Regions from separate parts of the Homo sapiens genome. Here all the other regions are linked to region 1. The links are contacts of gene promoters, found by promoter capture Hi-C in blood cells and fetal thymus (Javierre and others, 2016). All regions are on one chromosome and are shown on one strand. The core of a region is centred on a gene start or on the middle of the fragment in contact, and the rest is flanking DNA. Distances in the headings are between cores, read along the strand shown.

Evidence for each region. Contacts are between HindIII fragments. The CHiCAGO score rates a contact against its expected background, and 5 or more counts as called.
Region 2: a contact is called between a fragment that was not itself captured here and the fragment with the promoter of DNAJB12 in region 1, in 1 of 17 cell types (total B cells). The highest score is 6.5, in total B cells.
Region 3: a contact is called between a fragment that was not itself captured here and the fragment with the promoter of DNAJB12 in region 1, in 1 of 17 cell types (non-activated CD4 T cells). The highest score is 5.4, in non-activated CD4 T cells.
Region 4: a contact is called between a fragment that was not itself captured here and the fragment with the promoter of DNAJB12 in region 1, in 2 of 17 cell types (naive CD8 T cells and activated CD4 T cells). The highest score is 5.9, in naive CD8 T cells.

What each region holds. Positions count from the first base shown.
Region 1 is chr10:72,349,551-72,357,550 of GRCh38, reverse strand. DNAJB12 (DnaJ heat shock protein family (Hsp40) member B12) reads left to right here and starts at 2,632. Exons shown (of 9, transcript NM_017626.7): 1 at 2,632-2,786. The coding sequence starts at 2,654. RefSeq lists enhancers at 2,406-2,655, 3,046-3,175. The HindIII fragment of the contact is 22,726 bases long and covers 1-7,727 here.
Region 2 is chr10:71,892,765-71,900,764 of GRCh38, reverse strand. No RefSeq gene overlaps it. Among named protein-coding and RNA genes, the nearest start is that of LINC03139, 19 kb to the right of the region's middle. The HindIII fragment of the contact is 1,602 bases long and covers 2,557-4,158 here.
Region 3 is chr10:72,035,925-72,043,924 of GRCh38, reverse strand. No RefSeq gene overlaps it. Among named protein-coding and RNA genes, the nearest start is that of SPOCK2, 49 kb to the left of the region's middle. The HindIII fragment of the contact is 474 bases long and covers 4,127-4,600 here.
Region 4 is chr10:72,068,943-72,076,942 of GRCh38, reverse strand. SPOCK2 (SPARC (osteonectin), cwcv and kazal like domains proteoglycan 2) reads left to right here. Exons shown (of 11, transcript NM_001244950.2): 2 at 4,033-4,041; 3 at 4,395-4,440; 4 at 4,685-4,799; 5 at 6,517-6,631. Among named protein-coding and RNA genes, the nearest start is that of SPOCK2, 16 kb to the left of the region's middle. RefSeq lists enhancers at 6,673-7,174, 7,355-7,862. The HindIII fragment of the contact is 4,690 bases long and covers 370-5,059 here.

The sequences.
Region 1 (8,000 bases), core at 1,383-3,882:
TCACTTGAGCCTAGAAGTTTGAGACCAGCCTAGGCAACACAGTGAGACCCCATCTCTAAAAAAAAACTTAAAAAAAAAACTAGCCAGGTGTGGTGGAGCACTCCTGTAGTCCCAGCTATTCAGGAGGCGGAGGTGGGAGGATTGCTTGAGCCCAGAAAGTTGAGGCTGCAGTGAGCCATAACTGTGCCACTGCACTCCAGTCTGGGTAACAGTGAGACCCTGTCTCAAAAAAATAAAATGAAATAGATAAAAGCAATTTTGTCAAAGTCAACACTGCCCTCTACACTGCCAAATCCATTGGTCATTTCTCAGGCCTCACATTGCTTGGCCTCTCCACAGGATATGACGTTTGACCCCCCCTCCCTCCTTTTCTAAAAAAACTGTTTGTAGAGACCGTGAGGGGGGGCGGTCTCATTATGTTGCCCAGGCTGGTCTTGAACTCCTGGGCTAAAGCGAGCCTCCCACCTCAGCCTCCCCAAGTGCTGGGATTACAGGCATGAGCCACCATACCTGACCTACTCATTTCCTTACAACCTGCTTCTTCACATTCTCCTTTACTGGATTTTCTTCCTCTTCCAGATCTTTAAATGTTGGGATTTCGTGAGGCTCAGTAATCAGACTTCTCTGCTCTTCTCCATCTACACTCACTTCCTTGGTGCATATATATATATATATATATATATATATATATATATATATATATATATATATATATATATATCACAGCTCACTGCAGCCTTGACCTCCCATGCTCAAGTGATCCTCCCACCTCAGCCTCCTGAGTAGCTGGGACTACAGGCGTGTACTACCACACCCAGCTAATTTTTTATTTTTTTGTAGTGATGGGATCTCACTCTGTTGCCCAGGCTGGTCTCAAACTCCTTGCCTCAAGTGATCCTCCCACCCCTGGCCTCCCAAAATGTTGGGATTATAGGAGTGAGCCACTGTGCCTGGCCCCAAAGTTATATTTCCAGGTCCTTTTTGCCTAAACCCTACGTATGTACAACATCCTAGTCTGTATCTCTGCTTGATTCTAAAAAGCATCATAAACTGAATCAAACCCTTAATATTCCCCCACCAAACTGCTTTTGTAGTCTTTTCCATTTCCTTGTTTTAGTAAATAGAAATTCTCTTCTTCCAGTTATCAAGCCAAAAACATTGGAATCATCCTTGAATCTTCTTTCTCTCACAGCCCACATCCATTGCGTCATTCTGTCTTCAAAATATATCCAGAATTTTACTACTACTCACCACCTCCGCCATCACCCTTATCCAAGTTACCATTAATTTTCACCTGTATTATAATAGTAGCTTCCTGACTCTCATCCGGATTACTGTAGTAGCATCTTACCAAATCCTGCCTGAAAGGCCAAGCAATGTAAGGGCTGACAGATGACTCGGGGATTCGGCAACGTGGAGGTCACTGGCAACCTTCACAAGATTGCTTTCACTGGAGTGATAGCCCTCGAAGAACGGGATAATGATAGAACTGGATTACACTCTGTAGTAGAATCTTTTTTTTTTCTTCTTTTTTTTTAGATGGCGTTTCACTCTTGTTGCCCAGGCTGGAGTGCAATGGTGTGATCTTGGCTCACCGCAACCTCCACCTCCCAGGTTCAAGCGATTCTCCCGCCTCAGCCTCCCGAGTAGGTGGGATTACAGGCCATGTGCCACCATGCCCGGCTAATTTTGTATTTTTAGTAGAGACGGGGTTTCTCCATGTTGGTCAGGCTGGTCTCGAACTCCTGACCTCAAGTGATCCGCCCGCCTCGGCCTCTCAAAGTGCTGGGATTACAGGCGTGAGCCACCGCGCCCAGCCTGTAGTAGAATCTTTACGCTCCCTAGAATGTATTCGCCTTCCTGATCTGTTATAACTCACCAAGAGAATTCCCTTTTCAGAGCCTTTGCACTTGCTGTTCCTTCGGCCTGACCACCCTTCCTCCAGACAGTCACATCTACCTGTTATCGTTCCTGAATTCTGGTACCTGTTAATGACAGCTTCTGAGAGGTTTCTTTTATCGCGCTATTTAAAATAGCGCCTCCCACTCTCTATCCCTGTGTTTTCCATAATTTTTCTTCAGAGCTTTTATCACTATCTGAATCTATCTGGAGCTCCCCCAGCCTACACACACTGGAATGTAAGCTCCATGAGAGCAGGAGCTTTGTTTTGCTCACCCCTGTATCCCCATCATAAAACCATGCCTCACAAACAGTGGGCACTCAATATCTGTTCAGTGAATAAATAACCTTTGTCTGAAACGTATGTAGTTACATTACGTATATAGATCACCACTTAGTAAACCGTCTGGGAATAACAGGCACTCCGAAGGCCCCAGTCTCATCCCGACGGCTACCACGTGACCTTCCTGAGCTTGGGTTTCCTCCTCCGGAAGATTAGAGGGTTGGCGCATACTCAACTCTAAGACCTCCGGAACATGGAATCTGGGCGTGCACCATTATTGACACCTACACCAGCCGTCCCTTTCTTAGAAGACATACGGTAGCACTTCCACCCTCGCTCAAAACTCGGGAAAGGAGGGGCGGAGGGTGGATGTCATCACTCCGCGCCCGGCTGCCCGCGACGCGCCGGCGGGTGGCGCAGCCCTTCGCTCGCCCGGCCTCCCCCTCCCTGGTTCCGCGTTCTGGTTCCGCCATGGAATCCAACAAGGATGAAGCTGAGCGCTGTATCAGCATCGCCCTCAAGGCCATCCAGAGCAACCAGCCCGACCGGGCGCTCCGCTTCCTGGAGAAGGCACAGCGGCTGTATCCGACGCCGCGAGTTCGCGGTGAGTGTGAGGTGCCGGAGAGACTGGGGACATTAGAACTGATGGGGGGAACACGGGAACGGACCGACGGGAGCAGTTGGGGGAGGGGGAGGGGTGGCGAGGCGCGGCTACGCCTGCGCACTGAGGCGCGCGGTGGCTGCTGGGAGGCGTAGTTTTTCCCTCTTGTTCCTCTGCGGGATGCGAGCCGTCTGGAGACTCGGGCGGCCGGGACTTCAGCTTTCGGGGTGCTGGCGGAGCCCGCTGGGGTTTGAGGTCTCCGAGAATGAAACGCGCTGGCAGCCGGGACGAAGGGAACTTACCTGGAAGTGAACTCGAACTACTTTTCCCAAGGGGCCGTTCGGTAGCCCAGGCCAGTCGCCGGCCTGGGAAATATTACAGTTCAGGAAAATAAACATAACTCCTTTAAGGGAGAGAATGGGCGCTAGACAGGGAGACATTTCTGTTCTTCGGGCGCCAGGGAAAGGCGCTTCCGTATCTTCACTCCCTCTCACCTCTCGGGCTGAGGGTCAGGGACCACTCTCCCAAAATGCAAGCCGGCCTTTGCACCCACCCCAGTCCGCCGCCTCGGACTGTCCTGAAGCCGGGCCCCTCACTCCTCCCGATGATGAGATTCGGAGCGGGTGGCCTGGTGGGAGGTGCTGACCTCAGCCACCGCCAGTCCTCCATCGCCCGCAAGAGTCCAGCGGCGGTCAGCCATGTGGACGCCGAGGCTGCTGAGTTGCCCTGGACAGGAGCCTCCTGAGCCAGGGAGGGAAGAGTGAAGCTGGCTTTACAACTCATCACCTCGCTTCACCCGGGAACCCTTTCTTTTTTCTTTAACCTAAGTTTTCCAAGGAGTTTTTCTTAATCCACGCTAGAGGGGAGAGAGACACCGGGTGGTGCTTGTGATCACCACTCAGTAAACCGTCTGGGAATAACAGGCACTCCGAAGGGCCCAGTCTCATCCTGACGGCTACCACGTGACCTTCCTGAGCTTGGGTTTCCTCCTCGGGAAGATTAGAGGGTTGGCGCAGATAATGTGATTGGCAATAATACCCATAGGGCTTTGCAGTTTAGGAAGCTCCTTCACCTGTGCCTTCTCACTTGAGCCTGCCAGTCAGGGATGCAGAGCAAAGATCATTATCTTTATTCTATGGGTGAGGAAAATCTCTGAGGTAAGGGATGCCCAGGATGACACAGCTAGAAAGTAAAATGTTCTGTGACTCTGTAAATGTTTATGAAGGAAAAGAAATGAAATTGAGGAACAGCAGTCAGCCTCCTAACCGGCCCTGCCCGCCTGATGAGATTGAGAAAGCGGAACGCTGGTGGAAGAGGTAGCCTGGACTGCTGAACTTTCCTCCCTCCGGACTCTTGCAGGTTGATCTTTGGCCTGTTTGCCTCCCCTTGGAGAGGGTTTCGGGCTGTATTTGCCAGGACACCTGAGGTAACCTGCTCGAGGAGCCTCCCTGTGAATTAATTCATATTCTGTGGTGGGGTGGTATCCTCCAGCTGTCAGAATTCTGCCTGACACTGATGCTGCTGCGGGCTCAGGAGCAGGCAGCCAAGAAAGGATGGGCCACAGGGCCTCTGGGGATCTTTCTGTCAGCAGGCCCCTGCACCAGTTCAGGAGCTTGAAGGAGTGTCCTCTCTGGGGCTCAGGCTCTGGAATTTGCTGAGACAGAAGAACCACCTGCATGCATATTTGTCATATTTGTGCTTTTCTGGAAAGACTATGAGACTATACGCCTTATGCATCCGTGTAAACTTTACCATCTGCAGCCCTCCACTGAGCTGACAAAGACCTGGGATTAGTTTAGGTCTGGGACAGGGAAAGATCTTACTTCAAAAATAGAGGGCAGGGCTACCCACTGGGCTGGCTACCTGCCTCCCCAGGGGGAGTAATACAGATATATTAGGTGGCGGTCTATTGCTTTGGGTTTAGGCTCATCCCAGATGCTCATTCAATGCAGCAGACTTTTGTTGAAGATCATTTATGTTTTGTTTGCAAAGTCCTCTGCTTGGTGCTAGCAAGATTGGTAAAATGTGATCCCTCACCTCAAAAGAGCTTATAATCTAGTGAAAGAGACAAAACTTACAGAAACAAATATTACAAGACAGAACTGTAATTAAACAAAAAATAAACCCAAGGTTAGACGCTGAGGACTTAAGGACAGGCATGAAAAAATCAGGCCCCATCATCCATGGGTTCACAGTCTGATGGTGGGGAGGAGGTGCGGAGGACAATCTCCTGAACATTAAATTATCAGCAGTTTAGTGAGTGCTGTAGCAAGTGCATAAAAATAATGTTATCTCACAGTGAGGGAATGCTTTGGGGATGACAGGAGTTAACATTTGAATTGTGCTTTGGAGGACGGTGTGAGACTTGAGGAAAGGCATCCTGGAAGAAGACAAAGGAGCTGAAAGTTGTAACGTTTGGGGGAAGAGATCAAAGTGTAGCAAGATTTAGAGGCAGTGGAGGTGGTAATTCGTATACAGAGAGGATTAAGTTTGGGAAATAAAATGGGGCCAGATCATAGAAATCCTTTTCTACCAGGCCAAGATATTTTCACCTTATTCTGTAGTTAGTGAGGAAACCATTGAGGTTTTTGATAGCAGGAATAAAGTACGGGCACTGTTGTTAAAAGAGAACAGCATGAAAGGTTAATGAGAGGGAAGAGAGCTTCAGGGCAGGAAGCCAATAGGAGAGAATTGCCTTGAGCTGGTTGGATATTCTGAGGGCCTGGGACAAGGCAGTCATGGATAAGGCTAAGGTCCCTGGAAAAGAGGCACCAGGCCTGTGTGAGAGAGAGGTGCAGAGGAGAATCAGATGGGATGCTGGGGAATCAGAATTGAAGCCCCTGTGACCAGGAAGAAACCAGGCTGAAGAACTGAGATGGGAAGAGATGAGCAGAGTGGGAGGTGCCAGTGGGATAGTCCAAAGGAGCTGTCAGCCTGGAACTCAGGAGAGCGCTCCAGGTTACAGGTGAAAGTGTGGTATCGTCTGTTCCCTGGAGCTCACTGGAGTTGTGCATGGCTGAGGTCACTGTGGGAAAGTATAGACCATGGAGAGAAAGTTGCTGCAGGCACAATGGCAGGCAACACCTGCCCTGAGCCCACAGGCAAAGGCAGAGGAAGCAACAGATTGAGATGGAGCAACAGGAAAAGGCAGTCCCCGGAGAGGGCAGCGGCCAGGTAGCCATGGAGAGGTAATGGCAGCAGGTGGTGAGCAGCCCTGTGTGATGCCGCAGGCACTGCATGGGAAAAGGACAAGTTAAGAGTTGAAAAGGGAAGGATCGAGAGCATGGGCAGAGGATGGTCTTGGAGAGGTGGAAGGGCAGAGAGGGGAGAGTCACGAGAGAGGGGAGGCTCAGAGCAACCTTGAAAGGATGAGGGACCTCACACTGTTGGCCTTTGCAGCAAAAAGGGATGTGAGGGGGCTTGAAACTCCTGCTGCAGGAGGTGGGACAAGGAGGCACTGAGTTAAACTGCAAAGCAGTAGCTGGGCCCTAAGCTGGGAGGTCACAGACTAGAGATGGTGGAGCCAGTCAGTCCCTTTCTGGGAGTTTCTGTCCAGTAGCTGGCAGCCTGGTAAGCCATTGGCTTTGACTCAGGCTTTGTAACAAATGTGGAAGGTGCCAGATTTCCCAGGGAGCTCACGAGAGCATTTGTAGGCCTCAGTTTCCCCAGCATACAAAGAGAGGATTGGCTGGGATGATCCTGAGGTTCCTTGCAGCTCAGGCTATCCAATGTTCTGTGAAATGGTTGACTCTGGGCTAAGTCATGAAGGCCAAGCTGGGAAGGCCAGCCCACAGGAAAAGGAGACGGATTGCTGAGGGATTCTGCATTCAGAGTCCAGGAGTGAGAGATGTTCTGGTGCTGGCGAGGTCCGGGGTGGGGTTGTACCCTTCAAGTCAGTCAACCTTCATGAGCCCCACTGTGCACTTAGCCCCCTTCCATTCACTGTATTTCACAGAATCTTATTTACCCCTCAGAGCACTCCTATGAGAGCAGAGATCGTCTCTCCACTCAGGAACCAGCTAACCTGGCAAGGCCACATGGCTAGCCAGCAAAGACCCAGAGCTGTCCATCTCCAATCCCAGGCCCTTTTCTGACTCACTGTGAGCACCGTAGGTACACAGAGCCCAGAAACTCAGCTACTCACTTACTAACAAAGTCACGGTCAGAGACAACACTGTATATTTGCTGGGCATTGGGCTGAGTTTTTTGCTGGCATTCACTCATTTCCTCTTTTAGCCTGTATGATGGAGATAGAGTTTTGCACAGATGAGCTAAGTTACCTTGTCCAAGATGACCCTTCTAGCAAATGGCAGAGCTAGGTTTGAACCCATCGGGCAGTCTTTTTTTTTTTTTTTTTTTTTTTTTTTTTGAGACAGGGTCTCACTCTGTTGCCCAGGCTGGAGTGCAGTGGCACAATCACAGCTCACTGCAGCCTCAACCACCCAGGCCCAAGTGATCCTCCCACCTTAGCCTACCAAACAGCCGGGACCACAGGCATGTGCCACCACACCTGGCTAATTTTTTTATTTTCGTAGAGACAGGGTCTTCCTGTGTTGCCAAGGCTGGTCTCGAACTCCTGAGCTCAATCCATTCTCCTGCCTTGGCCTCCTAAAGTGCTGAGATGACAGGTGTGAGCCACTGCCCGGCCAAATCTAACTCTAGTCTGGGTTCAGTGGCTTTGGCCATAGAAATCCTCTCAGCTCTACCTCAGGTGCCTCTCCACCGCAGCTCTGTTCTCTTCTATCGAATTCCCTTCCTTTTCTAAGTCTGCCAGCTTTACTGAGAAGGTAACATTAAGCTGTTCTGTCTCTTTTTGTGACATTGCCTGTCAGCCTCTGTGCCATGAGGGATGTAAGCATGAAGCTGTCACATCCCCCAGGCCAGAAGAGAGACCCTACTTGCCAGCAACTGGAAATCTTTAATTTCCAACTCAAGCAGAAAGCTTCTATGTGACCCAGGGCACCCCCATTCTCCTTTGGGCTCTCTTTCTGTACTGTAGGGAAATTAGAGTGGCTGATTCCCTGTAACTGCCCTGAAAAGCTTCCAGAATCTTCTCTGAGAGGTACAAGAGAGAGCCTGTCCCATCTCCTGGCTAGTGCTCCTGCTCATCTCTGGTAGTTGAATAACTGGTTATTTTGCCCTTAGGATCTGCCAGGCTCAGCCTGGGCCACCAGAACTTCCAGAGGAACTGAAATAATAAAGAGCTTCTTGAAAAGC
Region 2 (8,000 bases), core at 2,108-4,607, 460 kb after region 1:
ACAGAGCGAGAGTCCTGCTCCAGGCTACCTGCACAGTGTCCTGAACAGGCCTGGGCAACGACAGGCTCCCAAGAAGTGTTTGTTGAATGAATGCGTGATTCATACCCATTATCTGTCTCTGAGTGGTGACATGACTTGTTCAAGGTCACTCAAAATCACTCAGCCAGTTGGGGGGCAGGGCACATGACCTATTGAGACATCAGCTGGGGCAGCCAAGGGCATGCTGGCATCACCCCTCCCCTAACCCCAGGCTGCACAGCTCATGGCTCCAAAAGAGACCCCTTCCCTCCTCTTGAGGAGAGGAGAGGGGAAGAGTGGGGAGGACTTTTGTCTTGCATCTTGACTACCAGCTCAGCCACAGCAGGATAGGGCACTAGTCAGAGACCCCACTTCCAGGCCCTAGCTCCCAGATGACATTTCTATACACACCCTTGGCAGGAAGAGAACCTGTTGCCTTGAAGGGAAGGAGCCAGTCCTGGCAGCATTCACCCCCTGCTGACTGAAGAGCCCTTGGGCCCTGAATAACCAGCAGCGATGCCCAGGAGCTATGTCAAGGGCCTCAGTGAGCCTCTGAGACTTGCTGGCTTCAGGTGAGACTCAGCACATTCCCAGCTGTGGTGGCTGTGGGGTGAGGCTCCTTCCACTTGAGCAAAGCAGAGTGAAAAGTAAAGGGGACTTTGTCTTACACTTTAGGAACCAGCACAGCCACAGAGGGGTAGAGTGCCAAGTGGACTCTTGGGGTCCCCAATTCCAGGACTTGACTCTTGGGTGGCATTTCTGGGCCTACCCTGGGCCAGAGAGGAGCCCACTGCCCTGAAGGGTGAGTCCCAGCCATGCAGCATTCACCACAAGCTGACTGAAGAGCTTTTGGGCCTTAAGGGAACTCTGGCAGAACTCCCTGTGGGCCTGTGGTGGTGGTGGCCACGGGGTGAGGCTCCTCTGCCTTTAGAAAGGGGAGGGAACAGCGGGTAGGGCTGTGTCTTGTGATTTGAGTGCCAGCTCAGCCACAGTACAATAGAACACCAGGTAGACTTGTAAGATTTTGGACTCTAGTCCCTGGCTTGCAGACAGCATCTTTGGACCTGCCTAGGGCCTGGGAGACCTCACTGCCCTGGAAGGAAGGACACAGGCCTGGCTGGCTTTGCCACCAGCTGATTGCAGAGCCCCAGGCCCTTGAACTGTCATAGGCAGTGGCCAGGGAGTGGTTACAGCAGGCCTTGGGCAAGACCCATTGCTGTCTTGGCTTTGGGTCTGCAGCACTGTCACAGTGCTGGTGGCCACAGGGGTGCTTGTGTCACTCTACCCCCAGCTTCAGGTGGCTCAGAACAGAGAGAGAGACTCCATTTATTTGAGAGAAAGTTAGGGAAGAGAACAAGAGTCTCTGCCTGGTAATCCAGAGAATTCGCCCAGATCTTGTCTGAGACCATCAAGGCAGTACCTCTATGAGTCTGCAAGAACCACAGTGTTACTGGGTGTGGGTGCCCCCTAAAGCAGATACAGCTTAGATCACAACACCCAAGTCCTTTCAATATCTGGAAAGTCTTCCTAAGAAGGACGGGTACAGCTGGGCGCGGTGGCTCACGCCTCTAATCCCAGCACTTTGGGAGGCTGGGGAGAGTGGATCACGAGTCCAGGAGTTCAAGACCAGCCTGGCCAAGATGGTGAAACCCCATCTCTACTAAAAATACAAAAATTAGCCAGGCGTGGTGGCAGGCGCCTGTAATCCTAGCTACTTGGGAGGCTAAGGCAGAGAATTGCTTGAACCCGGAAGGCAGAGGTTGCAGTGAGCCGAGATCGCACCACTGCACTCCAGCCTGGGTGACAAAGTGAGACTTGATCTCAAAAAAAAAAAAAAAAAAAAAAAAGACAACTAAGGCTAGACAATGAAGACTGCAATAAATACTGAACTCTTCAATGCCCAGACACCGAAGAACATCTGCTAGCAGCATGACCCAGGAAAACATGACCTCCCCAAATGAACCAAATTAGACACCAGGGACCAATCCTGGAGAAACAGAGCTCTGACCTTTCAGACAGAATTCTGTTTGAGGAAACTCAAAGAAATTCAAAATAACACAGAGAAGGAATTCAGAATTCTATCAGATACATTTAACAAAGGGATTGAAATAATTAAAAAACATCCAGAGCAGAATTTCTGGAGCTGAAAAATGCAATTGGCATACTGAAGAATGCATCAGAGTCCTTTAATAGCAGAATTGGGCTGGGCGCAGTGGCTCATGCCTGTAATCCCAGCACCTTGGGAGGCCGAGATGGGTGAATCACCTGAGGTCAGGAGTTGGAGACCAGCCTGGCCAACATGGTGAAACTCCGTCTCTACTAAAATTGCAAAAATTAGTTGGGCATGGTGGTGGGCACCTGTAATCCCAGCTGCTCGGGAGGCTGAGGCAAGAGAATCGCTTGAACCTGGGAGGTGGAGGTTGCAGTGAGCTGAGATCTGGCCACTGCATTCCAGCCTGGGCAAGAGAGTGAGACTAAACAACAAAAAGTTAAAAAGTTGCCAAGACAGTATTAAATTGAAACAAAAATCAAGAAGCTTTTAAAAACAAAGTTAAAAAGCAGGAGATGCTGGGCACCATGGCTCATGGCTGGAATGACAATACATTAGGGGGCCGAAATGAGAGGATCACTTGAGCTTGGGAGCTTGAGACCAGACTGGGCAACATGGTGAGATCCCCATCTCTACAAAAAAAAAAAAAAAAACCCCAAAAAACAAAAAAAACAAAAAAAACTTAGTCGGATGTGGTGGCACATGTTTGTAGTCTGTGGTGGAAGGTGAGCCATGATTGTGCCACTGCATGCACACCAGCCTGGGTAACAGACTGAGACTCTGTTTCAAAAAAAAAAAAAAAAAAATGCGAGGGGACTAAGTTAAGAGGTAGTTTTGTTTGTTTGTTTTGTTTTGAGACAGAGTCTTGCTCTGTCAGCCAGGCTGGAGAGCAGTGGCACAATCTCGGCTCACTACAATCTCGGCTCACTGCAACCTCTGTCTCCCAGGCTCAAGCTATTGTCCTCCCTCAGCCTCCTGAGTAGCTGGGATTACAGACACGTGCCACCATGCCCAGCTAAGTTTTGTATTTTTAGTATAGATGGGGATTCACCATGTTGTCCATGCTGGCCTCGAACTCCTGACCTCAAGTGATCTGCCTGCCTTGGCCTCTCAAAGTGCTGGGATTACAGGCATGAACCACCATGCCCAGCCAGGAATCACATTTCAACATGAGATTTGGAGGACAAACGTCCAAACCGTATCAACCTTTATGCTTCTTTTTGGCTTCCAGGAAAAACAAGACCCCTCTCTCAGGTGCCCTTAAAGAACCCCATCCTTTTTCACAGCATCTAACCAAACTTTGGTTTTTTGAGACTAAATTTTTTTTGTTCCCTCACCAAATTATAAGTCCCATGTGGGCAGGACCTGGGCCCCTTTTGCTTCTCACTGTGTCCTCAGTGACTAGGACAGTGCCTGGCACTTTGCAGGTGCTCAAACATCTTTTCTTGGTTACATGAAAGAGTGAATGGCTTTTTTGAGCACCTACTAGAGATTAAAAGTTTTATAGATGTCAAGTTTTCCTAAAGCCAAGCACAGTGGTGGCCCGGTTTGGCACTCAATAACTTACTGAGTCCTTGCCACCCAGGTCTGCGTTCTGTCTCTCTGGGTTTAGGGGTCTGGGATGTGGCCTTCCCTAGGGCTGCTATGAGTTGCTGTGGAGGCAGAGAAGACAAGGCTTAGCCTGCTAGCTGGAGCACTTCAGGCATCATTACTGTGGGCAGCTCTGTGAGGTCACTCCTGCCCCAATCCCTGGGCACCCGGCTGAGTGTGAGGCTTTGAGGACCAACCTAGAGATTAGGAACAGGGTTTTAGGCCAGGCATGGTGGCTCATGCCCATAATTCCAGCACTTTGAGAGACCAAGGTGAGAGGGTCACTTGACCCGAGGAGTCGGGGATCAGCCTGGGCAACATAGTGAGTCCCCTTAGCTACACTTAAATTTAAAAAAATAGAAAAGAAGGAACAGAAAATAGAAAAGAAGCAAATAGAAATAGAAAAGAAAAAGAAAAGCAAGTATAATAGAAATAGAAAAGAAGCAAATACTGTATTCTTCTGCCGTCTCATGGTCAGTCCTAGAATAGCAAGGGAAGCTTCCCCACCTCTCTGGTACTATACTGGGAGTGACCGCCAGAGGGCAGTGTTCTCCACATTGTTGCACCCAATAGGTGTCCCACCACACAAACCCAGCTCTTTAAAAAGTAGATTTTTTTCTTATCCAAAGTCGATTCATACAAAAAGAAAAAGAAATAAAAAATAAATTATTTTAATGGCTTCATTGCTACATGTTTGTTTTTTTGAAAAGGAGTCTTGCTCTGTCGCCCAGGCTGGAGTGCAGGGGGGTGATCTCCCCTCACTGCAACCTCCGCCCCCTGGTTTCAAGCGATTCTCCTGCCTCAGCCTCCGAGTAGCTGGGTTTACAGGCATGAGCCACCACGCCCGGCTAATTTTTGTATTTTTAGTAGAGACAGAGTTTCACCATGTTGGCCAGGCTGTTCTTGAACTCCTGACCTCAAGTGATCTGCCCACCTTGGCCTCCCAAAGTGCTGGGATTACAGGCGCGAGACACCGAGCCCAGCCCTCATCTCTATTTTAAATTATAAAAAAATTTTTAAAAGAATTATTGAGGACCCAGATATTTATTAATTTATCAAAAAGTAATAATGAACTCATTACATGTAAACATAAACATATTTTTACGAAAAATACCTTCATTTCCAAAACAAAGAGAAATTTAGTGAGAAAAACAGCATTGTTTTACACTTTTGCAAATCTCTCAAGCAACTGTCTTAATTAAAGACTGTTGGAGCCTCATGTCTACTTCTGCATTCAGTCTGTTGCAATATGTTGGGGCTTTTAAAATTTTTATTTATTTTTTTATTTTGAAACAAAGTTTTGCCCTTGTCGCCCAGCCTGGAGTGTAATGTTGTGATCTTGGCTCACTGCATCCTCCACCTCCCAGGTTCAGGTGATTCTCCTGCCTCAGCCTCCCGAGTAGCTGGGATTACAGGAGTGCGCCACCACATCCAGCTAATTTTTTTGTATTTTTAGTAGAGATGGGGTTTCACCATGTTGGCCAGTCTGGTCTTGAACGCCTGACCTCAGGTGACCCGCCCACCTCAGCCTCCCAAACTGCTGGGATTATAAGCATGAACCACTGCGTCCCGCAATATATTGTTTTGATTGAAGAAAATCCAGCCTCCCGCAAACACGGAGTTGGAAAAAAAGACGAGTATTTTGATAGCTTTTTCAGATAATTGTGAATATTCTTCTTTAATGCTACGCCAAAACTTAACAAGCAATTGTTTCTTTAAGGTTGATTATAATGTAGAATCTGAACCCATATCAATGAACATTTCATGCTTTATTATATTAAAATGCACGGGCCTATCTTGTACTTTTGTTTGTTTGTTTGTTTTGGAGAAGGACTCTCACTCTGTTGCCCAGGCTGGAGTGCAGTGGTACCATCTTGGCTTACTGCAACCTCCACCTCCTGGGTTCAAGTGAGTCTCCCACCTCAGACTCCTGAGTAGCTGGGATTTCAGACACATGCCACCATGCTTGGCTAATTTTTCTGTTTTTAGTAGAGCTAGGATTTCACCATGTTGGCCAGGCTGGTCTCGAACTCCTGACCTCAAGTGATCTGCCTGCCTCAGCCTCCCAAGGTGCTAGGATTGCAGGCATGAGCCACTGTGCCTGGCCTATCTTGTACCGTGAATGGCTGTTTTACCTACATGTGATGTGCAGCATCATGTGGCCTCTTTGAAATTTTGTACCCATTAAATCACATACATCTCCCAAAAGATGACATGTCACTGAACAGTGTCAAAAAATAGCATTTGTTAGCACTGCCATCCATCGCATCAGAAAAATCTTTAAATATTGAGAAGTTGTCAAGCTTGTGGTGGTGTACACAAATTTTCCAAAATTCTAATTTTCCCTTGAAAGCTCCAAGTTCCAACTTTATCATTGGCAACAAATGCTTCAGTTTCTTGAAGGGACAGGCTCACTTTGCTCATTTATGAGAAAATGTCTGTCTGCCAAATGCCCAGATCTGAATACCCATCATGTGTCTGTTCGTCGTTCTTTCCCGTATAAACAGTGTTCTCGGCTGGGCGCAGTGGCTCACGCCTGTAATCCCAGCACTTTGGGAGACAGAGGCAAGCAGATCACGAGGTCAGGAGTTCGAGACCAGCCTGACCAACATGGTGACACCCCCCATCTTTACTAAAAATACAAAAATTACCCAGCCTGGTGGTGTGTGCCTGTGATCCCAGCTACTCAGGAGGCTGAGGCAGGAGAATTGCTTGAACCCAGGAAGCGGAGGTTGCAGTGAGCCAAGATCGAGCCATTGCACTCCAGCCTGGGTGACAGAGCAAGACTCCATCTCAAAAATAAATAAATAAATAAATTAATTAATTAATTTAAAAAATAAGATAAACTGTGTTCCCTGGACCAGAGGCTCGCGTGGCTCCACCTCTGACAAGTTGTTTCTGCGAGCCAGTCCCCTGCTCTGGAGCAGGCGCTCTGTGTGCATCCCTGCTTCATCACACAGGAGATCAAAAGGGTATGTACTTAAGTGACACAGGCATATTTTGTCCCCACAAGTGCTTATCTAGGGGAGTGCACAGAGACCTGCCTAGTCTGTGGCCACTGCCTTGCTTCCTGAAGTTCCAGCAGTTTCACCCATAGTGGCTTTTTTTTTTTTTTTTTTTTTTGAGGCTGGAGTGCAACGGCACGATCACGGCTCACTGCAGCCTCTACCACCCGAGCACAAGTAATTCTCCCACCTAAGCCTCCCATGTAGCTGGGACTATAGATGCGTGCCACCATGCCCAGATAATTTTATTATTATTATTATTATTATTATTATTATTACTTGTAGAGACGGGGTCTTGCCATGTTGCCTAGGCTGGTCTGGGCAAACTCTGCGGCTCAAGCTATCTGCCCGCCTCACCCTCCCAAAGTGCTGGGATTACAGGTGCGAGCCGCTGCACCCTGCCCACAGTGGCTTTTATGTCACCAATGCCATCACAGTGAAAAGGCAATACTGTCTTAGGATTGTGAGGGAAGGGTCTTAGGACTCCGGGACTCAGTGGGCAGCTGCTCACATTGCATGGGAAGCATCACAGATACCCAGCCACCAACGCCGATGGTGGAGGATGCTGTTTTGGTGACCTGAACCTGGGAGAGAAGCCGCTATCAGTGCTGTGATTCTCTGAAATGGTTAAACTCTTGGCGAAGTTCCCTACAAAACAAAGTCCAATCTTCCATTCATTTGTGTTCTCAGAGTATGTTTTAAAATATGCAAAAAGGCTGGGTGCAGTGGCTCACACCTGTAATCTCAGCACTTTGGGAGGTCGAGCCAGGTGGATAACCTGAGGTCAGGAATTCAAGACCAGACTGGGCAACATGGTGAAACCCCGCCTGTACTGAATATACAAAAATTAGCTGGGCATGGTGGTGCACGCCTGTAGTTCCAGCTACTCGGGAGGCTGAGGCACGAGAATCACTTGAACCCTGGAAGAGAAGGTTGCAGCGAGCCGAGATTGTGCCACTGCACTCCAGCCTGGCAACAAAGTGGGACTCTGTCTCAAAAATAAAAAATAGGCTGGGTGCCTGTAATCTCAGCACTTTGGGAGGCCGAGGTGGGTGGATCACCTGAGGTCAGGAGTTCAAGACCAGCCTGACCAACATGGTGAAACCCCATCTCTACTGGAAATACAAAATTAGTCAGGCGTGGTGGCGCATGCCTGTAATCCCAGCTACTTGGAAGGCTGAGGCAGGAGAATCGCTTGAACCCGGGAGGCGGAGTTTGCAGTGAGCCGAGATTGTGCAATTGCACTCCAGCCTGGGTAACAAGAGCAAAACTCCGTCTCAAAAAATACAATAAAATAAATAAAAAATAAAATAAAATAAAATATTCAAAAATACCTC
Region 3 (8,000 bases), core at 3,114-5,613, 320 kb after region 1:
ATGCCTCTGGGGAACCCTCGTGGAGTAGGGGAGCTTGGTCCTGTTCACTTTCTTGCTGGGTGACACTTTCTTGCACTGATTGTCCATTTCTTCAGGGCTCAAGGATTGACAGTGTCACCTTTCAGGGTTGTTGTAAGGTAGTATCAGCTCGCAAAGCGCCATTGCCCTCAATCATCCTGACCACCTTTGCCTTTCATAGGCCCTGCCTCATCTAATTAGAGCACCCTCGTGAGATAGGGATGGCCGTTTCATCTATATTGCAGATAAGAAAACAGACCCAGAGAGGTTAAGCTGCTTGCCCAAAGTCACCCAGCAAGTAGACAGCACAGCCAGGATCCAAACCCAAGTGTGAGTTCTGAACTCAGCTCCTAACCACAGCGGAACCTCCCCCTCGGCGCCCCGTGTCACCTCTGCACGGATGCTCCCCTGCCTCTATCAGCCCCAGGAAAGCCCCTCTTCTCCTCCTTTCCCCAGAGACCCTTTCTCACCCAGCCTATCTCTCTCCCTTCCCTGCCAGCCCTGCAGGAGAGTGAGGACAGTAGGCTCCTGCCTGCCAGAGCTCACCCCAAACAGCTTCCTTACTGTTCAGCCAAGGAAACTGAGGCCCAGAGAGGGCTAAGGACTCATCCCAATCACACAGCAAATTGGCAACAGAGAACCAGAGCCCAGGCCTCCTGACCCCTTCCTCATTAGAACATTCTTTGCATTCCCCGTAGAGTTCATTGGGAACTGCTGAGGAATCTGTACCAGTTTGACCTGAATATGAAGGCATGTTACTTTCCACCCAAACACTGCTATCAGCTGGGGAAAGCCAAATGCCCCAATTTCTACCCCTTGGAGATATCTTGAGAAGATTCTCTGTTTTTCTGCTGACATAGTTTTCTGAATGAGTCCTGTCTAATTTAAAGTGCTGGTCTTGTTCCTGATTGGGCATTGCTTCTGCACGCCCTAGTGGGGGTCAGAGCTGAACCCTCACGGTGAGGGGTCTCTGACACTGAGGGGGCTCCTTCCATCTTTGTTTTGCTTGTTGCTGGGGACAGGAGCAGACTCGGGATGCAGGGGACACTCATGGGTTGTGGGTGGCTGAACTCTGATGTCCCAGCTGCTGGGGCCCTGCAGCTATGGGGGTCTCTTTGTAGATGGGCTGCATGGCCTGCATGGGCAGTGCCCAACTTCATGGCAGCCCCCCTGTGCTGAGGACCCTCAGAGAGGGGCCCTGGGTCCTGCCCGCAGTCACACCTTTACCCCTTCTGCAGCTCAGGCCCCTGGTTCCTCCCCCATCCTCACCCCCACCCACAGGGTTCCTTCACAGGGACGCCTTTCCTGCTTCCAAGGGCTGTGGGGGCCTGGGGCACCCCACATTTGCTTCTCAGGCCTCCTGCCCAGGCTGCTTCCCAGGTATGTGGCCTGTGCTATCGCCCAGGCCCTGTGCTTAGAAGGGCTTGGCGTTTGGTTTAACACTCTGCTGTCGTCTTGAAATTCCTCATAGTCTTTGAGGAGTGTTGGTAAGTTATCTTATAGAATGTCATTCAATTTGGATTTGTCTGATGATTTTCTCCTGGTTAGACTGGAGTTATGGGTTTTGTTTTGTTTTTTAGACAGAGTCTCCCTCTGTCACCCAGGGTGTAGTGCAGTAGCACGATCTTGGCTCACTGCAACCTCTGCCTCTCCAGTTCAAGAGCTTCTCCTGCCTCAGCCTCCCGAGTAGCTGGGACTACAGGCATGCACCATCATGCCTGGCTAATTTTTTGTATTGTAGTAGAGATGGGGTTTCACCATGTTGGCCAGGCTTGTCCTGAACTCCTGAGCTCAGGAAATCTGCCCGCTTCAGCCTCCCAAAGTGCTAGGATTATAGGTGTGAGCCACTGTGCCCACTGAGTTATGGGGTTTTGGGAGGACCCCAGAGGTAAAGTGCTCTTCCCCTCACATCATACCAAAGGCACATGGTACAAACATGGCCTCACCACTGACGTTAACCTTGCTCAGGAATCCTTGAACTAGAGCCCTGCATTTTTATCTTGTGTGGGGCCCTGCCTTTATCCCATGCATCCGTGAACACCTACTGGTGCAGCTTGCCCTCCTGTCATCCTGTCCTGTGAGCAAGTGAACTACGATGATAGTTCTGGGCCTCGTGCAGAGGGACCAGGCACCCCTTGCAAGCCAGGCCCTGTGCTGGGTGTTGGAGGCAGTGGGGGAAGCCAGACAAAGCTGAGCTCCATGGATTTCACAAGTTTGTGGATCCAGGACGATGAGGCAGAAATAAAGCATGTGAAAATAGTCACCAGCACCCAGCAGGCTGGGCTGCTCTACCCAGGCAGGTCAGGAAGGCCCTCCTGAGAAGGTGACTCGAAACTGAGAACTAAATTAGAACCACTGTTAATCCAGCAGTCCCACTACTGAGCATCGACCCAAAGGAAAAGAAGTCATTGTATCAAAAAGATACCTGCATTTGTATGTTTATAGCAGCACTATTTACAATAACAAAGATATGGAATCAACCTCAGTGTCCATCAATGGTTGATTGGATAAAGAAAATATGGTATATATGCTCATAAAATACTATGCAGGCATAAAAAAGAGTGAAATCATGTCTTTTACAGCAGCATGGATAGAACCAAAGGCCATTATCTTTTTTTTTTTTTCTTCCTGAGATGGAGTCTCTCTCTGTCACCCAGGCTGGAGTGCAGTGGCGTGATCTCAGCTCACTGCAACCTCCGCCTCCTGGGCTCAAGTGATTCTCCTGCCTCAGCCTCCCATGTAGCTGGGATTACAGGTGCCCACCACCACACCCAGCTAAATTTTGTATTTTTACTAGAGACAGGATTTCACCCTGTTGGCCAGGCTGGTCTCGAACTCCTGACCTCAGGTGATCCATCTACCTTGGCCTCCCAAAGTGCTGGAATGATAGGTGTGAGCCACTGCGCCTGGTCAAAGGCCATTATCTTAAGTGAATCAACTCAGAAAAAAAGTCAAATACCGCATATTCTCACTTGTAAGTGGGAGCTAAAAAAAAGGAGTGCACATGGACCCACAGAGGGGAATGAAGGACACTGCAGACTCGGGAGGGTGGGAGAGAGTGAGGGGTGAGGCATTACTCAATGGGTACAATGTAAACTATTCAGGAGATGGTTGCACTAAAACCCCAGACTTCACCTTATGCATGGAACAAAACTGCACCTGTACCTCTTATATTTATACAATTTTTTTTTAAAGAGAGAAACTAAGGCCTGAAGTATGAGGGAGCAGCAAGTGTTCCAGGCGAAGGGGACACCTTCATTACCCTGCCTGGGTGGTGAGAGATGTCATGGGGTCATCTCCAGCCCCAGCTGTCCAGCCTTGGGTCAGATAGGCATCTCCCGAGATGGGGGCCTGGCCCTCCCCAAGGCCCCTGGGTGCACCTTGCTGCAGGTGCCATCTCCACAGCTGCCAGTCATCCCTTGGCAGGAAAGTGTGGGCGGTTGGCCTGCTCCTCCTGGTTTTCCATCCTCTCTGTCCTCCTAGTCTTTCCTGGCCTCCTCACCGCCACCCCGCCCTGTAATTTCCCTGTCTGCCATGGGAGCTTATTTGGGACATACCCAGGAATGGTTTCACATAAGGCAAGAACAGGGTTCTCAGTGCTCACCCTGAGTCAGGGCGGCCACCCATCCACCACCACCACTTCCCTGCAGAGGCCTGTGCCATGGAGGTGTGGCTGGCAGAGCCCTGACCCTACGGCGGGGGGCTCGGACCTTGTCCTGGCATGCTTCAGCTCACTGGGTGACCCTGGGTACATCACTGACCCTCTCTGGACTTTTCCAAACTAACTCCACACAGTTCAACTGAGGAGAACTTAGAATCCCATGAGAATCTCAGGTGGCGAGAAGCCCGGCATCATCCCAGGGCACAGAGGGGGAAACTGAGGCTGTACCACAACACGTGAGACATCAGAGATGGCATCAGGGGTGCAGGCACTCAGTCCGGCGTCACGGTTCAGAAGCTTTCCAGTGTGGGGACAGGAAGCCAGGCCTAGACAGTGGAAGACTTGTCCCTGTTCTAGTCCCATCTCTGACCCCCACTGGCCGTGAGGCCTGGCCACACAAGACCCTCAGAACCTAGGTTTCTCCATCTGTAAAACGGCGTTAAAGCTTTTTTTCTCCCAGGGTTGCTGTGAAGTTAAAATGCAATAAGCAATGTTAAAGGGTCTTGTAGGGAGCATCTCCTGGGTAAGAGTCCTCACTCTCTACAGGACGAGGCCCCAGTCTCAGCCCTGCCCAAGCCTCTGAGAATACAAACCTCATGCGACTCAGGGACAGCTCAGAGGCACAGCTGTGGAAGACACCTCCTCCTGGGTGGCCGGGAGGAAGTCGAGAGGGGCGCTGTGACAGGGACGTACCTTCTTCAAAGGCTACTATGGGACAGTGGCTGACTACAGATAGGGAAGCCTTGAAACCTCAGCTCCCTTCTCTATAAATACAGATGCACATATTAGCAATTTACCAAGTGAGAAGCTGCTTGGCTTACTATTTGACTGCTTTTTATCTGCGAGGGCGGCATGAGGCAGATGTGCGCGCCTCCATTTTGCAGATGAGGACTGAGTGACAGAGGAGCCCAGTGCCAAGCTTGAGCCCCAACCTGCCATTCTCCAGGCGGGGATGGATGGGCTCCAGAGACTGGGTGGGACCAGGGAGGTCTGAAAGCCTGGGGACAGGGTCTAGCCTCCAACTCTGAAAAATCACATTAGGTCACCAGGGGACAGGGTGCTCTGAGGAGACAAAAACAAGGCCAAACCACTTCCCGGCCGGGTGCTGGAAGTCAACACCAACTCTTTTTGCTCTATAAATAAATTTCATATTTAAATAAATATGGAACAACGTGACCTTTTTTTTTCCTTCTGCAAAAGAAAAGAGCATTTATCCCACCTCCAGAAGCTCATTTCTTCTTTCCAGCTCCTCTGACATCACCCAGGGGCAGCCAGGGAGGAATTTTTTCTTCTGGGATGACTCGATCCCAGCATCAGGCACATCTGGGCGGCGCCTGCTCCACAAGCCACAGACAGGCCCTGTGCCCACGATTCTGCTACAAGTCGTTGTTCAGAACTCAGAGCGGATTTTCCCGTGGAAGCAATATTGCTAGGTGACCGTGATAACCATGACACCATGGACACTCACTTGGAAGCAATCTTGCGTGTGGGTGTTTGGTTCCCAGGCTAGACCAGCAGCCCATTTTGGAGGCAGGAGGGAAAGACAAGGGCTTTGGGGTCAGGTGTGTCCTGGCTGTGTGACCTTTAGAAGTGACTCAACTTCTGAGCGCCTCCCTTCCCCAGTCTGTTGACGCTGGGAGATCGTTCTCCAGGGCCCCTTGCATTCCTGCTTGTCTTGTGACAGCTTTTGTTCTGGATTATCTTTTCAAGGACGTTTGTGTAGTCAACAGCCTAGGAAGTGTACACAGAGTAGCTGAGACAAGTCCCAATCAATTTAGAAAATTTATTTTGCCACGGTTAAGGATGCGTCCTCAGGAGGTCCTGAGGACACATGCCCAAGGTAGTCGGGGCACAGCTTGGTTTTATACATTTTAGGAAAACATGAGACATCAGTCAATGTATGTAAGATGTATATTGGCTGAGTCTGGAAAGGTGGGACAACTCAAAGCAAGGAGGGGGCTTCCAGGTCATAGGGTGGATAAGAGACAAAAGGTTGCATTCTTTTGAGTTTCTGATTAGCTTTTCACTGAATACCCAATTTACAGGAATAGCTACTTGTGCCGTAGTCTGGCTTAGTGAAACAATAGGGCAGAGGAAATAATCAGACCTGCATTTGTCTCCTGTGAGCAGAGGGATGACTCTGAACTCTGTCTGTCCTTTGTCCACAAGGAATTTCCTTGTAGGCAAATTGTGAGGGAGGACAAGGAATTTCCTTGTAGGCAAATTGTGAGGGAGGTATGTAGCTTTGTCTTGGGAGGCAGGTTTGCACTACTCAGTTCCCAGGTTAAGGACCTGCTTGACTTAGTTCCCAGCTTGATTCTTCCCTTTGGCTTAGCGATTTTGGCGTCTCCCTCCAGGGAAGAGGGAAGATTTATTTGTTTGCTTTCCAGGGGAATAAAAACAATGCTTCCCATCAGGGCAAAGATTGGGCAAGTTTGCTGGAAGCCCCCTCCTAAGACTGGGAGTTTTCCAGGTTTGGGGTTCTTCAGCTAAACCCACTGAACATGGGCCCACCTCCAAATCTGCCCCACGAGACAAGGGGAACCAAGGCGAACATGAACTCCTGTTGCCTGTTGTGTTTGAGCAATAAAGCCCTTTGTCTGGGTCCCAGGAGTCTTGCGTCTTCTGCCAGCATCCATGAAACCATGGCAGGCTACCTTGCTAGCCTAAAAGCAGGGTGAAACTCAGACCCTGCAGTTCTTGACGGTCAATTCCATGCTTATAATACTCACCTTGTTGCTGTGAGGGAGATGCCGGGCCGTGCCTTGCCCTTGGTGGGTGGTTAATAAAAGGTGACTGTGGCAGTTTTACTATCAGTGGCCAGGAAGTTAGTTATTTACAAGCCACACAGGATTCCCACTCTGAGTGCCAGTGGTACAACCTGGCCCTAGCCCTGGGATTAGAAATTCCATTCCTTTTGTGGGGTCTGGGCGCCTGGATAGGCTCGCTGCGCCTGGGGGAAGGGCTCCGGAGGGTGAAAATCCTCCTTGGTCACCCCTTCAGCCCCTTCGGGTAACCGCTATAACCCATGTAAAATATATCTTTCTAGACCTTTCCCTGCACATCAGTATGTTTAGAGAATGTATAGCAGTTTGTTTTCATATAAATTATTTATACTGTATGTGTTGTTTTGCAATTTTCATTTTTCACTTAAAAATATTTCAGCCGGGCGCAGTGGCTCACGCTTGTAATCCCAGCACTTTGGGAGGCTGAGGCGGGCGGATCACGAGGTCAGGAGATCGAGACCATCCTGGCTAACATGGTGAAACCCCGTCTCTACTAAAAACACAAAAAAATTAGCCAGGTATGGTGGTGGGCACCTGTAGTCCCAGCTACTTGGGAGGCTGAGGCAGGAGAATGGCATGAACCCGGGAGGTGGAGCTTGCAGTGAGCCGAGATCGTGCCACTGCACTCCAGCCTGAGCCACAGAGTGAGACTCTGCCTCAAAAACAAAAAAACAAAACAAAACAAAAAATTCCTGGACACCTTTCTCTGTCAGCCCACCTAGCTTCTGACTGCTGCATACCTTTCATAATAGGACTCTCCAGCCATGTGTCTGCCCCTCCCCTCGTGGTGGACCTTTGGTTCTTTCCATTTCTCATCAGTTCAAAAATGCGCATTGCGTGGCCAGGCACGGTGGCTCACGCCTGTCATCCCAGCGCTTTGGGAGGCCGAGGCGGGTGGATCACCTGAAATTAGGAGTTCAAGACCAGCCTGGACAACATGGTGAAACCCCATCCCTACTGAAAAAACAAAAATTAGCCAGGCGTGGTGGCTTGCGCCTGTAATCCCAGCTACTTGGGAGGTTGAGGCATGAGAATCGCTTGAACCTGGGAGGCAGAGGTTGCAGTCAGCCAAGATTGCACCACTGCACCCCAGCCTGGGCCACAGAGCAAGATTCTGTCTCAAAAAAAAAAAAAAAAAAAAAGAAAGAAAAGAAATGCACATTGTGTGTGTTGGAAAAGCCTCCCTGGATGCACAGGGCAGGGCTTCCCCGGGGCAGAAGCGAAGACTTCACTTGCACGCTACAGCCTTGGAAATGGAGGCCCGAGGGGCTGTAATGTCCCAAGGTGAGGTCACACCAGGCGTCTCAGCCCCTCCTTTCAGGCCCTAGAGCCTGGTGTCCCCCTCCTTCCTCTCCACTGGGAGTCTCTGCCCTGAAAGAGGAGGGGAGGGACTAGGAGATCAGGCTGGGGAAAGGAGGGAAGGGGTGACTAGGTAACAGGGGGCTTCTCCCTGTGATGCTAGCAGACCCAGTGGGGACAACTGGGGAGGCAGCACAGAGACCCCTGAGGAGCTACCACACTGGAGGGGAAATACA
Region 4 (8,000 bases), core at 1,465-3,964, 280 kb after region 1:
AGAGAGACTCTAACTTGTGGGGTGGGAGGGGGCGATGGGGAACCCTGACTCAGCTCCTCTTTTGTCTTGCCATCTCTGGCCAGTTGCTCTGCCTCTCTGAGCCTTCGTTTTCTCCTTTCTTCTGGTGTTGATCCTATTGGCTCTGACTACTTCACAGGACTGTGAGGATAAAAGGCAGACCCATCCAAATGCCTGGAGAGAACTTACTCTAAAAGCACCATGCAGGCTGGGTGCAGTGGCTCACGCCTATAATCTCAGCACTGTAGGAGTCTAAGGCAGGAGGACTGCCTGAGCCCAGGAGTTCAAGACCAGCCTGGGCAACATGGCAAGACCCCATCTCTATTAAAACATTTTTTTAAATTAAAAGCTTTACTCATATAGATAGGTAGATAGATAAGCATATATAAGCACCATGCAATACAAGCCACGAGCTCTTCCAAATCCCCATTTTCCAGGTGAGGTCGGCAGCAGAGCCACCTGCCACCACTCTCAGGTGTAGAACGGGGCCTCTGTTTCCTGAGAAGCCCCAGGTGCCCTGATCAGACTATTTCTCACAACTGCTAATGAGCCCACTGGGGTGCCATAAATAGACACCCAACACTGCACTGAAAGGCATTATTTGCACTTGCCAACAAACACCTTTTTTTCAGCTTAAAGGTGGCGCCAGCCCACACCTGGCCTCAGGGACCCCTCAGTGTGTCCTTGAGTTTTACCCTCAGAGTGGCCACTCCCCAGCTGCCCAGAGGACTTCCTCGTCATTCCTCCCCACAAGACCTCCTAGGGGACTCTCCTCGTATCCCTTCTGGTCTCTGCTGTCCCCATGGTGGCCTCTCCCTCTCCACTTTTTTGGGGTTCCTCATGTGGCATCTCTGTCCCTCATTTTCCGCACTTGCAGTCCGGGGGTCTCTTCTCCATCATAGCAGCTTTGATTTGTTAAGTGCTTCCTGGACCCCAGGCACCCCGCAGGTGCCATCTGCTTTAATCTCTGAGTAGTCCTGGGAGATAGGCACTGAGCCCCTCGAGGTCGGGTGCTTGCCCAAGGTGCACTGGTCGGGGGAAGCCTGGGGATCTGCAGGACCCCAGGGCCCTGCTCTCCTCGTCCCTCTCTGGCTGGCTGCCTTTGCTTTCCTGGGAGTGAGGGTCCTGGAATCCAGATCCACTGGGGCCCCTCCATCCTGCCTGCCCAGCCTGGCCACAGCAGAGGCAAAAAGTCGAGGCTGGAACCGGGGGCAGTGCTTTGCACAGAAGGGGCTCCCTCCCTGCCAGCTGAGTCAGGAAGGGAGTGGGGGATGGTGGAGCAGCTGGGGAAAGCCCCTTTCTTAGAACTCCCACGCCATCCCCACTTTCCCCCAAATTTCTAATCATAAATTCTTGGTCTTGACCTTTGAGAATCCACTGTGTACTGAGTCCCAAAAATTCCACTCACGGCCTGGTTGGAGGTTAAGGCAGCAGGGTTGGGCCAGAAGGTGGGAGTGAGCCGGTGCCAGGGGCCTCAGATGACACCCAGGGGCTGGAGGCACCTTCCCTACTTCCACTCTGGGGCAGGTGGGTTATGGGCACACAGATCTTGTTGGTTGAGGGCAGGTATGGTTGAGGGCTCATACCTCCCTCCCAGAACCCAGCCATTTCCCATCACCTGCACAGCCTTGTCCCCACCCCTGCCCCAGGGGATGATGGGTACAGACGGGAAGACCCCAGCTGATGGAGACCAGTTGCCACTTTTGCCCCAACCCTTGTCATCATGGCCTCAGCAGCTGCACCTCTCTTGGCCTCCCTCCATCTCCTGTGGGGTGGACCCCCAGCAGAGGACCCCTGAACCCTGAGGAGCTCCTGGAGAAGGCTTCGTTGGTTTTAGCAAACGAGGGAAGTGGTGCCTGCAGCCTCCCCAGAGGCTTGCCTGGGGGCTCAGGAGCGCTCAGGTCAAGCCTGAGGGATGGGGTGAGTGCTGGGCCAGGTGCCCCACAGGCTCCCAGGAAGCACCCCTGCAGCCTTCCTCTGTCTGCTCCTGGGCCCAGGGGCTGCGGGACTCTTGGCTGCTAGGACAGGTACGTGTGGGCCAGGTGTGGGCCGAGCAGAGGGATGAGGAAGAGGCTCAATGAGAGACAGAGGAGAGAGGGACACAGGAACACACGGGGAGGCACGTGAAAGCAAGAGGAAGAAGGAGAGAGAGGGAGAGAGCCGCCGTGGGCTCTCACGGGAGCAGTCTGCGGTCCTCCCGCCCTCCCCATCCTTCCCGACTCCTGCTGCCTCCTTCTCTCACTGCGGAAGAGGCAGGAAGGCCAGCCTGAGGGAGAGCCTCGAGTGTGAAACTGGAGGCTGCTCACAGAGTGGGTTTTGTTACCTCGTTTCTGGATAAAAACCATCTGGCACTGGGTGAACAATGTCCTTGTTAGTGTCCTTGTTTTCCTTCTGTCACTACACATGTGTGTGCATATGTCCACCTGTGCATAAATGAGGATGTGCATACACACAAACATGCCTGCACACACATGCTACATAATACAGACCTGTGAGTGTGCATGGGTGCACCTGGGTCTGCATAAATGCACACACACATGCAGAAGCATGCACTCAGGTCTATGCCTGTGCACACCGCATCTTTCTCGGTGGTGATGCCAACTGCTTGCTCGGGTCTGGCCCCTTCGGCCTTTGTCCAGGAGGCCTCACCCTGCCTGCTCTGACGCTTGCCAGCTTCCAGGGGAGGCTTCAGAAGCCTGAAGGCCTTGGATTTCAAAGCCCTTTAGGCACCCTTCTGTGTGCCCACTGCTGCACGCATGTGGGTGCCGTTTGGTGCCATGGCCCCACCGCCCTTTTCCCCCAGACCTGACAGCTCTGCTCACCCCTACACATCTCTGCTCCTTTGGGCTATGGCAGAACTCAGGATGAAGGGGGCAGCTGCGCGTAGCTTCTCATGCCCCTCTCCCCCCAGCTCCCAGAGCCCCTCCTGGAGCCCCACGCAGAGGAAGTGGGCAGCTGGTCCTTGTCACTGCCAGCCTGCAGGCCTGGGAAGCCCCCTCCTTGCCTGCCTGGCAGAGTTTCCACCAGGAGTGCCCTGGGACTGTTAGGTGTTTTTTAGCAACTGTCTCTGCCCCGTAGGGGAAAGGGAGGAAGCCAGATAAGTTGAGTGTTCTTGCCAGGGAGCTGGGTCAGGTGGGAGGCTCTCTGCCTCTGGCCACTCTGCGGTCCACGGGCCTGAGAGGCCCCTGCAGCTGGAGCAGGGTGAGAAGGTCTCCCTTGTGCCTTAGGCCTCAGAGAGTGTGTTGTAGCAAGAAAAGTGGTCTGTGCTGGGCATCGGGAGACCTGGGTTGTGTGACGGGAGGACCTGGGTCAGGTCATCTGTCTCTGGGCTTTCTCCGGCACAAAGGGGGGGCTGGACCAGGTGACCTCGTAGGACCCTTTCTGGGTCCTCTGCCTCTGAGGGTTTGAAGCTGAATCGTGATAACTGGGCAAGCCTCATCACAGGCATGGCCTCCTCCCTCACTCCGTGTATGAGCTGAGCTCTGCAGAGATGTCAGACCTTGAGCAAAAAGCATCCCTTTGCAGACTGGGTGAGGGGGTCTTCCTCCCACCTCACTCACATGGTGGGCAGAGGTCAGGAGTGGGGACTGACAAGGAAGGGGCCTTGGCAGGAGACAGACAGTGCACCGTTTCTCAGGCAGTTTCTGAGACACCCAGGGCATAGGCATGAGAAGCTCTGTTCCTACGCAGCATGGGCACCTCGGACATCTGTCCTGGTGGTGGGGCTGGGGCTGGACTGGGAACGGAGTGGGGGTGCCCCACCCTCTCAAAGCCACGGGCCCCTGCTACTCCTAAGGCCAGTCTTGAGCTCTGTGATGAAGACGTAAGAATACTGGCCTCTTATTGGGGTTCCTGGGGGTCAGAGGAACACAGCCATCGAAGGCCATTGCTCGGCCACATGATGAGGCAGGGGACCCCAGGAACACCAGAGGGCCTCACACTGATATCCCCATCTTTCTCCCTTTCTCTTCCTGCTCCGTTTTCCATGGCCTGCTGCTGTTCCCTGATCTCCAGGAAGTGGAGGTGAGTACTGCCCAGGACCCCACTCTGTGTGGTCTCTGCAGAGCACACCCCCTCCCCTCCTGTGTCCCTCCACACCCTCATTCTGACTTGCCTTCCCTGCCAGCCTCCAGTGTGGCATGGGAGCAATCAGGAGCTCACGGGAGAGGCTGGAAAGGATTCTGGACATGGGTTTATAGGGATAGAGGTGTGGGGGAGGCAGCTGGCAGGGCCTGGGTGGACAGGGGTCAGCCACCAGGATGACGGCCATTGGCACATGACATCGCTGGCCCAGGCCTCTCCTCGACCCCGCAGTTGAACCTCTGGGATATGGATCTTAGCCTTTCCCTTCTCCCTTGTCCCTCTCTGTCCTCTAGGATGACTATATCAAGAGCTGGGAGGACAATCAGCAAGGAGATGAAGGTAACATGACTCTCCCGGCGGGGGAAGGTGACTGACACGTGTGAAGACTTGAGACCAGAGGGCAAGCCCTTAGCCCGCTTGGGGGCTCCTTGAGCAGCCAGGCCCCGGTGGGGATGGGACTCCTGAGCTCAGGAGCTCTGGTTATCAAGGGCTGCTGGAGGGAGAGGCCTCCCAGCTCAGAAGTGGGGCTGGAGGTTCCTGGGTTCTCCCAGGTGACCTGTGTCCTGACTCTGTGCCCCTGCAGCCCTGGATACCACCAAGGACCCCTGCCAGAAGGTGAAGTGCAGCCGCCACAAGGTGTGCATTGCCCAGGGCTACCAGCGGGCCATGTGCATCAGTCGCAAGAAGCTGGAGCACAGGTGAGAGGTTTGGGGAGGTGGGAGCCCTGGAGGGGGTGTGTTCAAAGAGCAAGGGCTCAACTGACCCTCTCCTTATGAATTAGCCATCTACTGCTGTTAAATAAATTGTAAAACTTAGTGCTTAAAACAGCAAATATGTATTATCTGACATCATTTCTGAGGGTTGGAATCCAGAAGTGGTTCTCTTAGATGGTTCTGGCTCTGGGTCTGTCTTGAGGTTATAGTCAAGGTGCTGGCTGGGGCTGTTTCATCTGAAAGCTTGTCGGGCTGGAGGATCCACTTCTAAGCTCACTCTTATGCTCTTGGTGGGAGGCCTCAGTTCCTGATCATGTGGACCCCTCCATAGGGATGCTTGAGTGTCCTCACAACATGGCGGCTGCCTTCACCTAAAGTAAGTCATTTAAGAGATGAGCAAGGAGAAAGCCACACCATATGAGAACAATTACCAAACCCTGTGGGATGCAGGGAAAGTCACATCTCCTTTTTGGGCCTTGATGTAGTATCTCTAAGACAAATAGGTTAGACCATATAATTTGAGGTTCCTTTCAGCTCTGACATGCAGTGACTTCATGAAATATTTAAGGTGGTAGCTTGTGAGAGGTTGTAGCTTGCAGAGGAGAAAGGAGTGAGGGACATTTAAGGAAGCCTTAGCTCCAGCTGGGTGCAGTGGCTCCTGCCTGTAATCCCAGCACTTTGGGAAGCCAAGGCGGGTGGATCACCTAAGGTCAGGAGTTTGAGACCAGCCTGACCAATGTGGTGAAACCCCATCTCTACTGAAAATACAAAATTAGCTGGGCATGGTCGCTTGTGCCTGTAGTCCCAGATACTCGTGTGGCTGAGACAGGAGAATTGCTTGAACCTGGGAGGCGGAGGTTGCAGTGAGCCGAGATCACGCCACTGCACTCCAGCCTGGGTGACAGAGTGAGACTCCGTCTCAAAAAAAAAAAACACAACAAAACAAACAAAAAAAGGAAGTCTTAGCTCCAGCCCAAGGACAAGGCTCTGCCTGGCTCCAAGACCCTGGAAAAGGTTCCAGTTCCCTCCCTTCTTTCCTGAATCATAGAAGATGAAAGATGGGGTTGCAGTCTTAGAAGGCTGCAGGGGCATGGCCGGTAATGTAATGCATGAAGAGTGCTTGGTCACGGGCCACTCTGTGGAGCACAGGTGTGGTGGAAAGCAGGCAGCTGCTTCTTGGCCCTGGTCTATTACAGCTATGTAGGAATGCAGGTCCAGGACTCCCATGCTTCCATTTTTCAAAGACAGGCCAAGAATCCAGGTATTTATGTGAACTCTCCCATTTGGTAAATGTTAGTGCATAAATAACTCAATTAAAAAAAAAAACACTTGGTGGCCAAGTATGGCCCAGAGGTCATCAGTTTGCAACCTCAGATTTGGTCTGACCCCCTAAGTGAAGTGTGACCCCCTTTTACCTCTGGCCTTCAGACCTGGAGTTGCTACCTGAAGGCCCCATGGGACTCAGTGACTCCTAGAAGAAGAGAAGCTGGGGGAATTTATGCCCTGCTCAGTTGGTTCCACCCTTCTGAGCTGGAGGAGGGTCTGGCAGCAGTGTGGGGAGGGTGGGCAGGGGCAGGAAGGGGCTGATCTGCTGAAGATTGCTGCTGCCTTCCTGTTGGAACAGGTCTGCTCAGCCCTCCCTTCCCCTGCTCCTTCCTCATTGTCACTTCCACCCTGGTGTGCCCCCCACCCTCTCCTGTAGGATCAAGCAGCCGACCGTGAAACTCCATGGAAACAAAGACTCCATCTGCAAGCCCTGCCACATGGCCCAGCTTGCCTCTGTCTGCGGCTCAGATGGCCACACTTACAGCTCTGTGGTGAGGAGCCCAGGCCCCAGGTAGGGTGGGGGTGGAGTCACCTGAGGCCACAGGAAGCAGAAAGGATGACCCAGCTGGGGCCTCCGGAGGGGTTTCCAGGACTGAGGTGGGGCCAGATGGCAAGGTCAGTGTGTTCAATGCAGCCAGCCATACTGGGGCCACCTGCAGCCCTGGCTGGAACTACCTGAGAGTTGGAGCCAGACCCTGTCTGTCCCTGACCTCGGACAGGTGCAGGTGGGGAGTGGGGCCTGGAAGAGACACTATGGTCAGGTAACTGCAAGTCAAAGGAACTGAGGGAAGACCTCAGCCAAGTGTGGAGGGCTGTGGAAGAAGGAGCTCTGGCATCCAATTGTTAGTGGGGGAAGAAAGGAGGATTTCCACAGGGAGGCGCCAGTGTTCACCAGTGAGCAGGGGCCTTCTGGGGCAGCAGGAAATAATCCTCCATAAGAAGGTGATGGAAGAAGGAACCGATTGGGAGAATGAATTTGCACCTTATGTGGATTTTTATGAGGATTTCAGGAGACAATATTTGAGAAAGCATTTAAAAAATTTTAGGCTGGTCACGGTGGCTCACGCCTGCAATCCCAGCACTTTGAGAGGCCGAGACGGGTGGATTGCTTGAATCCGGGAGTTTGAGACCAGCCTGGGTAACATAGTGAGACCCTGTCTCTACAAAAAATACAAAAATTAGCTGGGTGCAGTGGCGTGTGCCTGTGATTCCAGCTATCTGAGAGGCTGAGGGGGATGCCAGGAGTTCGAGGCTGTAGTGAGCCATGATTGTACCACTGCACTCCAGCCTGGGTGACAGAGTGAGACCTTGTCTCCAAAAAAAAAAAAAAAAAAGTAACATAGAAATGCAGGTGCTGATAATGAATGTTTTTACTGGCAACAAGGAGTCGGGAATTGCTTGGTTTGGGAGGGCACTGACAGCTGGCTTGGGGTGGGTGCCAGGGCTGAGGGGCCTTCTTGGAGTGAGATGCAGATTTCAGTCACCCGCTGTGGGTGATGATTGACATTGCTGTGGGGATGAGGTCATCCAGGGAGAAGAAAGGGAGGAGAGAGAGAATGAGCAAGAGGCCAGGGCAGAGGCTGCATTTAGGAGGTGAGAGGGGTGCAGGGGAGCTGGCAGAGCTGGCAGAGAGGAGGAGGAGAAGAAGAGGAGCTAGTGTCCCACAACCCAAGGCCAGGGCGAGGTCTGGGCAGGACGCTGCAGTGCGGTCCGGTCCAGGGGTCACGCTGTCCTTTAGGGAGGTGGAGGTCAGCAGGAAGTCTGGCTTTCATCCCGGCTCATGGCCTTGGGCAAGTCACTGGGCCTCTGTGCGCCTTGCTGTTCTCTGCTGAGCAGGAGAAACCCAAGCCTCCCAAGTGA